2 separate regions of the Homo sapiens genome follow, and region 2 is linked to region 1. The links are contacts of gene promoters, found by promoter capture Hi-C in blood cells and fetal thymus (Javierre and others, 2016). All regions are on one chromosome and are shown on one strand. Each heading gives the region's core, a stretch centred on a gene start or on the middle of the fragment in contact. The rest is flanking DNA. Distances are from core to core; before and after follow the strand shown.

Region 1 (4,562 bases), core at 585-3,084:
AAGTCGCCAAAGGAGTGGTCTCAGGGCCCTCCAGCTGAGAAATGTGCTCTCTGCAACCCCTGGAGAACTAACCCTTTCCTAACCATCTGCTCCAACAGTGCCTTGGGCAAAGGTGCCAACAGACCAACCCTTCCCTTCTTTCCCCTCAGGCCAAGAAAGAGACATCAGAGCTTGGTTGGCAAGGGGCTATTTAAGGCAGCATCCAGAGGGCGGGGCAGAAAACTGCTGGAGGCATCCTCCTCCTCCACCCCTCCCCCTCACAGCCCAAACACACGCCCCTCACTCTGTAGACAGCCATCTGCCTCATCGGTGTCTGAAGGCTGTAGATATGTCCATCATCTGTCTTCTGTCATTGATGCTGCTGACCCCTCTGTGTCCACCCCACTTTTAATCCAACCCTCCTCTCTTCGATCACCACCAAGATACCTTTCCAACCAAAACCACAGAATTGAATCTAAGCAGAGGAGCTCAAAACACAAGGAGAGTGAAGACAGCCAATCCATCCCCCGCCTCCACTTAAGAGGAAAAAAGGGCGCGGGGGGCTGGGCGGGGGGGGGGGTGTTGAGGGGAGAGATGGAGTCAGAGGCCTGACACGCCAGATAGGTTCCATGATGTCTCTAGATGAACCTCCCTCCTATTGACGATGAAACCAATTCCAGCAATTTCAGCAGGTCGGCCCTGTGACAACAGGGGCATCCCAACGCTCAGTGTTTAAAACAAAAATCCAAAGGCTCGCCCAGAACATGCTGGGAAAAACCGAGGACTGAACAAAACGAGCCATGCTCAGTGGGATCCCTTCTGCTTTTACGTAGCAATGTAATAGCGTAATAAATTCTTGTCTGCCTGGAGAAAGCATGCACTGGTGAATTTCAAAGCCATCTTACGACAGCGGATGCATGGGGATGCAGAATTCGACAGCACATTCCCCCATGAAGGAAACATAATGACTTCAAGCCTCTTTCCCCTCTATCTTGAATGGCGCTACCACGTATCAAGGAAGCCACATCGGAAAGCAGCGAGGTGGTAGCAGGGGATGCCCGGGGAATTCGGAGAAAGGAGTTGCTTGCTGTCCATGTCGGTGATGAGCTGCCTAGCAAGATGCTGTCAGCCACTCGGGGAGAAGAAGGGGCACGGGCGGCACGGGCAGGCGCCGTGTCCCCGGCGCATACTAGTCCCCGTTCATTCAGGCGGGTCCGGCCAACCGCGTCGTCCTTGCGCCCCTCCCGCCGCCCTCTCCAGGGGATGCTGATGAATGAACACACCTGAGATGCCTCCATCCCGCCGCTCGCTCCCTCCGCCTTCCTCTGGCTGCTGCAGAGGTGCCCCTCCTCGGTAGTTTCACTTTACAGCACAAACCCATTCGGGCTTTGATGTCTCCTCCACCCACCCAAATTGCAGCCACCCTGAGACGGGCGGACATTCTCTCCTAGCAGAGGCCATGATCGTACTACCCCACACCCACCAAAAAAGGAAATTTAAAAACCCCCAACCCTGGAAGCCCCCAGATCCTCCGCACCCTGGGGAACTTTCCTTGAAAGACTGGGGATTCGCCGAGCAGGCAGGATGGACGGTTCGGCCGCGAGGGACCACCGCTTTCCCTGTGCCCATGGGGGGATGCTCTGGGGGAGGGGGTCCCCCAAGTCCCTCCAACAGCTGGCCCTTTAAATGCGCCTCCTCCGAGCGCGGAACAAAGGCGCCGCCCGCGGGGGCCGAGCCGCGCACACCCCCGGCGCTGCCGCCGCCGAGCGGGCAAGCGCGGCCGGGCGGGCGAGCGCGGGCTTACCTTGCTGGTCGCCGGGCGGGCGGGCTGCGCGCGTCCGCCCCACTCGCACTACACGCTGCAGCTGGCCCCGCTCTGTTTTTCTGGGACTCAGCGCTGACTTCACCGACACTCCGCGGACAACCAATGGGCTGCGGTGCCCGCCCCCTCATTAGCATGCCTCTGGAACCGTCCACTCTGGCAGCGCCCGGCCAGCGGGCGGTGCCGGGGGCGGGGCCGGGCCCAGCCGTGACAGGAAGGGGCGTGTGCGCGGATGGGAGGCGAAGAAGTGTCCGGCGCCCGGCTCCTGGCATTGTGAGCCCGCCGGCCTCCGCCGGTAACGGGCGCGCGGGCCTAGTAACCCTTTCCGTCCTGGCCGGGCCGGACGCTGGCCTGGCGCGCCTTCTGGTCCTTCGGAAGGGTCGCCCACGGGGAGCTTGGAAGGAACCTTAGACGTAAAATAACAGTGATAAGTTATTTAACTCCTGGGCCTCAGTTTACCCATCTGTAAAATGGCATAATAGTCCGACTTCGTAAAATCTAGTGAAGATTAACATAGTTAACATAGGTGATGCATTTTGATCAGTTCCTGGCCGTCGTGCTACATAAACGTTTGCTGTTGTCATTCGTGTGCTCTGTACCAGCCAGTGTGCTTAATGCTTCCCGGATATTTCCTCATTTGATCCTCTTAGCCTGATAAGAGAGGAACGATTACTAATCCATATTTTTCTAGTGAGAAAACTGAAAATAATTACTATTTTTATGCAGGAAAACTGAGGTGTAGTTTAAGTGGCTTGTCCGAGGTCACACAGCAAGTGGTGCAACCAGGATTTGAACCCAGGCTCTGAGATTTCACTCATGCAACACACATATATTTAGAGGCTCTGTGGCAGTGCTGGACCCCAGTGTTAACTGCAGAGAACAAGACAGGCAAGGCCTTTTCCCTTAGGAAGCTTCCATTTTAGTGGAGACAAGTAAATAAATAAGATCCTCTACAATGTGAAAAGTAGAGTGCATACAATGCAACAAGGTCATTGCAAGTGGGGGGAAGGCACCGTGTTAGATGGGGTTCAGAGCTAACCACTGTGCTATGCCATTCTCCTGACCTCCTCTAGTCCCCCTCAGAGTTACAGAAAAGGAAACAGAGACAGGGATCAGAGTGGGGAATCTGCTGGCCCAAGGTCGCAGAGCCAGCAAGTACTGGTCTGGAACTTGCTCCCTCCATGCCCAGCTTCCCACATCCCTGAAGATAAGACACTCGCCCTTTGGGCTGAGCACAACTGATTTTTGTCAGCTGCCCTTGCAAGCATCTTCAGCCAGAGCACATTCTCAGTGAACAGGCTGTGGGTGGCAGGGTAAAGACTGGCCTTGATAACTGCACAGACTGATCGGAAACTCATCAGCAAAGATTCTTAGATGTCAGGGAACGGTGACAAGTCTTTGGTGACCACCTGGTGTCCTCTGCTGTGTATTAAAAAAAAAAAGAAGAGTCCTAGCCATCTGGAAGCTTACTCTATAAATGAGAAAACACTGGGGAACTACTCAACCTAGGGAGCCCCCAGCCCACGGCCTTCCCCTATCTGCACCTCATCCTGCAGCTTTTCAAAGAACACTTCCCCGGCTCTCCTATTTATTTACTCCACAATCTGTGTAAGACAGCTCTCTCTGGGCTATAAAGTAATAAAACAGCTAGTATTTATTGAGCACGTCTAGGCTGCTATGCACCGTACTATACTTGTGCTAAGAGCTTTACATGCGTTAACTCACATCCACCACACGACCCCAGGTGGGAATAGTGTCGTTATCCTGAGGTTATCCACAGAGGTGTATAACAAAGGGTAGAGAGACTAGTTACTTACCCAGCAAATTCAGGGCAACACCATTTTAGAATAGCCAAAAAAAAAAAAAATCAAAACAATCCAAATATCCAATTTGAGTGCATTGGTTAATAATAGTACAACCATATGACAGAATATCATATATTAATAGCTACAAAAAATGAAGAGGTTTATTGACACATAAAGATGCTCATAATAGGCTGGGAGTGGTGGCTCACGCCTGTAATCCCAGCACTCTAGGAGGCCAAGGTGGGCAGCGGTGGATCACCTGAGCTCAGGAGTTTGAGACCAGCCTGGGAAACATGGTGAAACCCCATCTCTACTAAAGAATCCAAAATTAGCTGGGCATGGTGGCGTGCACCTGTGGGAGGCTGAGGCAGGAGAATTGCCTGAGCCTGGGAGGCGGAGGTTGCAGTGAGCCAAGATCGTGCCACTGCACTACAGCCTGGGCAACAGAATAAGACTCCATCTCAAAAAAAAGAAAAAAAAAAAAGATGCTCAGATTATTGAATGGAAAAATAGGTAGAAAACTAGTTTTATACTGCAATCCCATTAGAACTATTCTTATGGGATTGCAAGTAATTATTTTTGCTCATCCATAGTCTTCTGATTTTTTTCTTCATAAACATCTACCAACTTGTCCAGTGAAAATAAAATAATTTTAAGATGAAAAACCAGACTCTATCAATGAAGATTTCATCTACACTATCTCAAGGAATCTTAAGGGAGGCCTAAGGCTTCAGGTCATCCCTCAAATATTGAACCTCTCTGCTGTTTCCAGTCTGTGTCACTGTTGCATGTCTCACTGTAAGGCATAACATTGCCATTAGGATTTATGAAAGAAATGGTAAAATAGTGGAAAGTCAAGAAAGAAGGAAAGTGGAAAAAACAGAAAGAAAAATCCTACTGGTGGCCAGGCGCAGTGGCTCACGCCAGTAATCCCAGCACTTTGGGAGGCCGAGGCA
Region 2 (4,562 bases), core at 809-3,308, 380 kb before region 1:
GGAACCCAATGCAGAATCCAGCCCCAGGACTCAAACGCTGGCTTTAATTCCAACTCACACCCCGTGCCCCTAATCAGAGAGGATCAGGGGAGATGGAGGACCCAAGGAACCCTGGCACCTGAAGGGTGGGAATCTGAGGCCAAGACTGATTGTGGGAAATTGTGGGAATCAGGAAAGGAGGAAGTGAGGCAGAATGGGGGGACGGCGGGGGTGGGGGGATGGCGGGGAGCTGGGCTAGGAAGGATTAAAAATCAGAAGCTCAGAGGCGAGTAGATCATCTGACGTCAGGAGTTCGAGACCAGTCTGGCCAACATGGCAAAGCCCCGTCTCTAAATAAAATACAAAAAAATAGCCGGGCGTGGTGGCGCGCGCCTGTAATCCTAGCTACTAGGGTGTGCTGAGGCAGGAGAATTGCTTGAACCCGGGAGGCGGAGGTTGCAGTGAGCCGAGATGGTGCCACTGCACTCCTGCCTGGGCGACAGAGCAAGCCTTGTCTCAATAAATAAATAAATAGTTAGAACCTTAGGAAGGATCCAGAGGGGAACTGTCCTTAGGAAGGTGCATGCTGGGGATGAAGGAATTGGTTTTAAGACTCAGGAAGTGAGGGCAAGGGAGAGACGAGTGTTGGGGGTGCAGTGGGGTGCTAATGCAGCAGCCAAGCAGAAGACTGGAGGAAAACAGAGCCCTTCTCCTCCAACTCCAGCTGCTCCTCTGAGTCCCAGGCCACCTGCTCCTGTGTCTGCCAACCTACTGACATGTCTCCCAGCCCTGCTGGAATGCTGTTCCTCCTGATCTCTGCCCTGCCCCAGACCTTTCACTAACCCCACCACCCCCACTGTCCAGGTCCTACCACCCCACTGCCCCGACCATAGCCTGCCCCTATCCCAGATGCCTCTCCTTCCAGCCTCTTGCCCTAGGTGACACAAAGGGGACCTGGACATGCAGGTGAAGAGGGTGTTCTTCTGGGTCCTCCTGCTCAAGTATCCCGCTCATGCAGTTATGAGTGTGAGTAAATGTTGGATATGACACAGATTCTATTTCTCAAGCTGTTTCACACTGTGGTTTACCTAACAGTGTTTTTGTGGAATCATCTATGGGGATTTGGTCCTCCCTGCAGACCTCAGTGCAGATTTCTTGAGCAGCCTACAGGGGCTCTGGCCCCACCTGTCCACACCAAGTTCTGGGTCCTGCATGCCCTGCTTGGCCCAAATACAGCAAGGTTGACAGGATGGAAAGCTGAAAATGGTGACTTATAATATCGAAAAGTAAGGATTTCACGGCCCAGTGAAACAGAATGGAGAACCCAGAAATAAATCCTTGCATTTACAACCAACTCATTTTTGACCAAGGCACCAGGAACATACCTTGGGAAACAGATGGTCTCTTCAATAAATGGTACTGGGAAAATGAGACACGTGAAGAATAAAACTAGACTTCTATGCCTCATCATATATAAAAATCAAATCAAAATGAATTAAAAACTTACATGTAGGAAACTATGAAACTACTAGAAGAAAACATAGGGGAAATACTTTAGAACACTGGTCTAGGCAAAGATTTCCTGAGTAAGACCTCAAAAGCACGGGTAACGAATGCAAAAATTGATAAATAGAATTACATCAAGCTAAAAAGCTTCTTCACATCAATAAAAATAAAAATAAAGTGAAGAGACAACCCACAGAATGGGAGAAAAATTTTCCAAACTATTCATCCAACAAGGGATCACTAACAAGAATACGTAAGAACTCAAAAACAAAAATTCCAAATAATCCAATTTAAAAATGGGCAAAAGATTTCAATAGACATTTCCCAAGAGAAGATACACAAATGGCCAACAGTTATATGCAAACATGTTTAACATCACTAATCATCAGATAAATCCAAATCAAAACCACAATAAAATATAATTTAACCTCAATTAAAATGGCAATTGTCAAAAACTCAGAAAATAACAAATGCTGAAAAGGACACAGAGAAATGGGAGCGCTCAAACACTCTTCGTAGGAACATAAAATAGTTTATCCACTATGGAAAACTGCATGGAGGTTCCTCAAAGAACTAAAAATAGAACTATCATATGATTCAGCAATCCCACTGCTGGGTATATGCCTACAAGAAAGAAAATCAGTATGTCGAAGAGACATCTGCACTCCCAGTTTATTGCAGCACTATTCACAACAGCCAAAATATGAAATCAACCTAAGTATCAACGGATGAACGGATAAAGTGTGGTACATATATATGAAAAAAAAAGGATTTGTGAATATACTAAAAGCCATTGAATTGTATGCCTGAAATGGGGAAGTTGTATGCTATATGAGTTCTATTTCAATAAAGTTGTTTTTTAAAACATAAGGAATCTTATTTAATAATCATCATGGGCATTCTTGGAAGCCCTCTGCAAGATCCTGTTTCAAGTTCTGCAAGTTTGGGGTCCAACCTGTGTGAACCTTGTTTCCCTATGAGTACATTATTTATGTTTGTGAAAGCTTGACAGCTCCAAGAACACTAATACTTAATCGTTGGTTTTAGCACTAGTCTGTGTAACCAAATACCACCTGTACCCCCTATAACTTACGGAAAAAAAGTGAAATGTCTTTTGCACTCTGTTATTTCGAGTTTGTTGATTTTTAGCAACATCTGGGTCATCCCTTTTCTTCTTCTCTGGCAGGCTGCCCCTAGGGATTCCCTGTTCAGCCAGTTTGATGAGAGCCCTAAGAAACCCATCAGATACCAAAATAAATGGCTATATTCTGCTGGAATGTTTGTAGTGGGGGAATCACATATGACCAGGAGGTGAATTATTATTGTCATTTCCTTTGTGAAATGTGTCACTTGTCATCTCTTGATTTACCCAAGGCAGGGAGAGAGAAAGAGAAAAAGGGAGTTGATCAGACACTTCCCATTAAGATAAGTATTAATAAATTTCTTCTGATCACCATGGCCCAGATACCTATGGAGGGATCTGGAAAGGTCCAGTGTTCAGGAACAACCCTATCATTTAGGCAGTGTTAGGCCAATTGAATACTTCCAATCAAAAGAACCTATTCTGTTTCCTTTGAGTCTTTTAAAAGGGCAAATGTCTTGAAAACGTTTATTCTTAGAGTTTTGGGGGTTTTGTTGTTGGTTGTTGTTGTTGCTTCTATCTTGGCTGCATTTTTCATAGGTCATCTAACCTCTCTTTTCCTAGCATCTTTGAGCATTTGGATAAATTAAGCTGTCTTGCATTTCCCACCTCCACCCTTGCTCATGGCCGCATTCGCCTCTCAAAATTCCCCTGAGCCTTCTGAGGACTTTTTTTTTAACTTTTATTTTAGATACAGGGAGTACATGTGCAGGTTTGTTACATGGGTATACTGCAATTAAGTAGTGAGCATAGTACTCAGTAGGTCGTTTTTCAACCCACGCTCCTCTCCCTCCTTCCCCACTCTAGTACACTGTGTCTACTGTTCCCATGTTTATGTCAATGGATGCTCTATGTTTAGCTCCCACTTATAAGTGAGAAAGTGCGGTATTAGGTTTTTCTATTCCTGTATTAATTTGCTTAGGATTATGACTGAGACCAACTCTTATCCTTCACGCTGTTAAGTAGCTCTGATCTTCAAGATTAGCCAGAAGGAATCTGTACACTCTGCAAGTGTTTCAGTGGCACTTTGTTTATACTGCTTATGGGGCATTTGAGTTCATTGCCTTAAATTGCAGGTAATTTGTTATAAATTTGCCTCCTCTAGAAAGTCACAGGTTTTGTAAGGGAAAGAACTGGGTCTTGTCTGTTGACCTATCCTATAGGATATTTCCGTATTGGCAGCAGCTCATATTTCCATGTATTTTGTGCATCACTTGAGCAGAATTTGTCCCACTGAAATAATACCTACATGTCTTTTTAAATCAAATTAGTAATTCCTTGCTGAGGTTGATCTATATCAGTACAGTTAAACACTGGATAAGGGGTTCAACATAAAGATTACTTCCAATGTTGACAGTCTAAGATTCTGTAAAATTATTTGTGAGGGTGCAAGAAATGTGAAACTACCACATGTATAAGAATGTATAAGAATGGAGTGTACCACATGTGGTAGAATGTGTAGTACGTGGTAGAATGTATGGCACACTGTTTGACACTACACTATGTGGTATATCATAAAAATGTGACACTACCACATGTAAAGAATGCTATGACCTGTGGTCTCAAAGGTTAAAAAGGTTTATATCTCACCCTTCTTCATATATTTTTTATTTCTTTCCCTTTCCATATTCTCTTATTTAAGTTTTTTCATAGAGAAAAGTATATTTTCTCTCCGTCTCCCCTCTCATTTTCAAGCCTGATACCTTAGGAAATTTTAAATTCTCTCTTCTTAGCTTTCAAATTAATTGTTTGTGTATCTTCGCTCTGCTGTACTTTTCAGTTTCTCAGAGTTCAGACAACCACCATGAGACCTGCAGCTTTTGTGGCCCTGTTGGATCTAATCTAGGTAGGAGAGTCCACTATGGTTATCTGTGTCCAGACAGTTGCCAGATGGAACCAGAGTGACCATGACTGGGAATGCTTTCCCAAGTAGTGA

The links. Contacts are between HindIII fragments. The CHiCAGO score rates a contact against its expected background, and 5 or more counts as called.
Region 2: a contact is called between a fragment that was not itself captured here and the fragment with the promoter of SORBS1 in region 1, in 1 of 17 cell types (M1 macrophages). The highest score is 5.0, in M1 macrophages.

Annotation. Positions count from the first base shown.
Region 1 is chr10:95,559,537-95,564,098 of GRCh38, forward strand. It overlaps SORBS1 (sorbin and SH3 domain containing 1), which reads right to left and starts at 1,835. Exons shown (of 33, transcript NM_001034954.3): 1 at 1,784-1,835. RefSeq lists an enhancer at 1,418-2,180 and silencers at 1,665-1,774, 1,815-2,184. The HindIII fragment of the contact is 3,213 bases long and covers 1-2,710 here.
Region 2 is chr10:95,184,188-95,188,749 of GRCh38, forward strand. The region is part of intron 3 of LOC107984257 (a long non-coding RNA gene); the gene reads right to left. It also overlaps the pseudogene PAWRP1. Among named protein-coding and RNA genes, the nearest start is that of ACSM6, 7.8 kb to the right of the region's middle. RefSeq lists a silencer at 1-36. The HindIII fragment of the contact is 857 bases long and covers 1,631-2,487 here.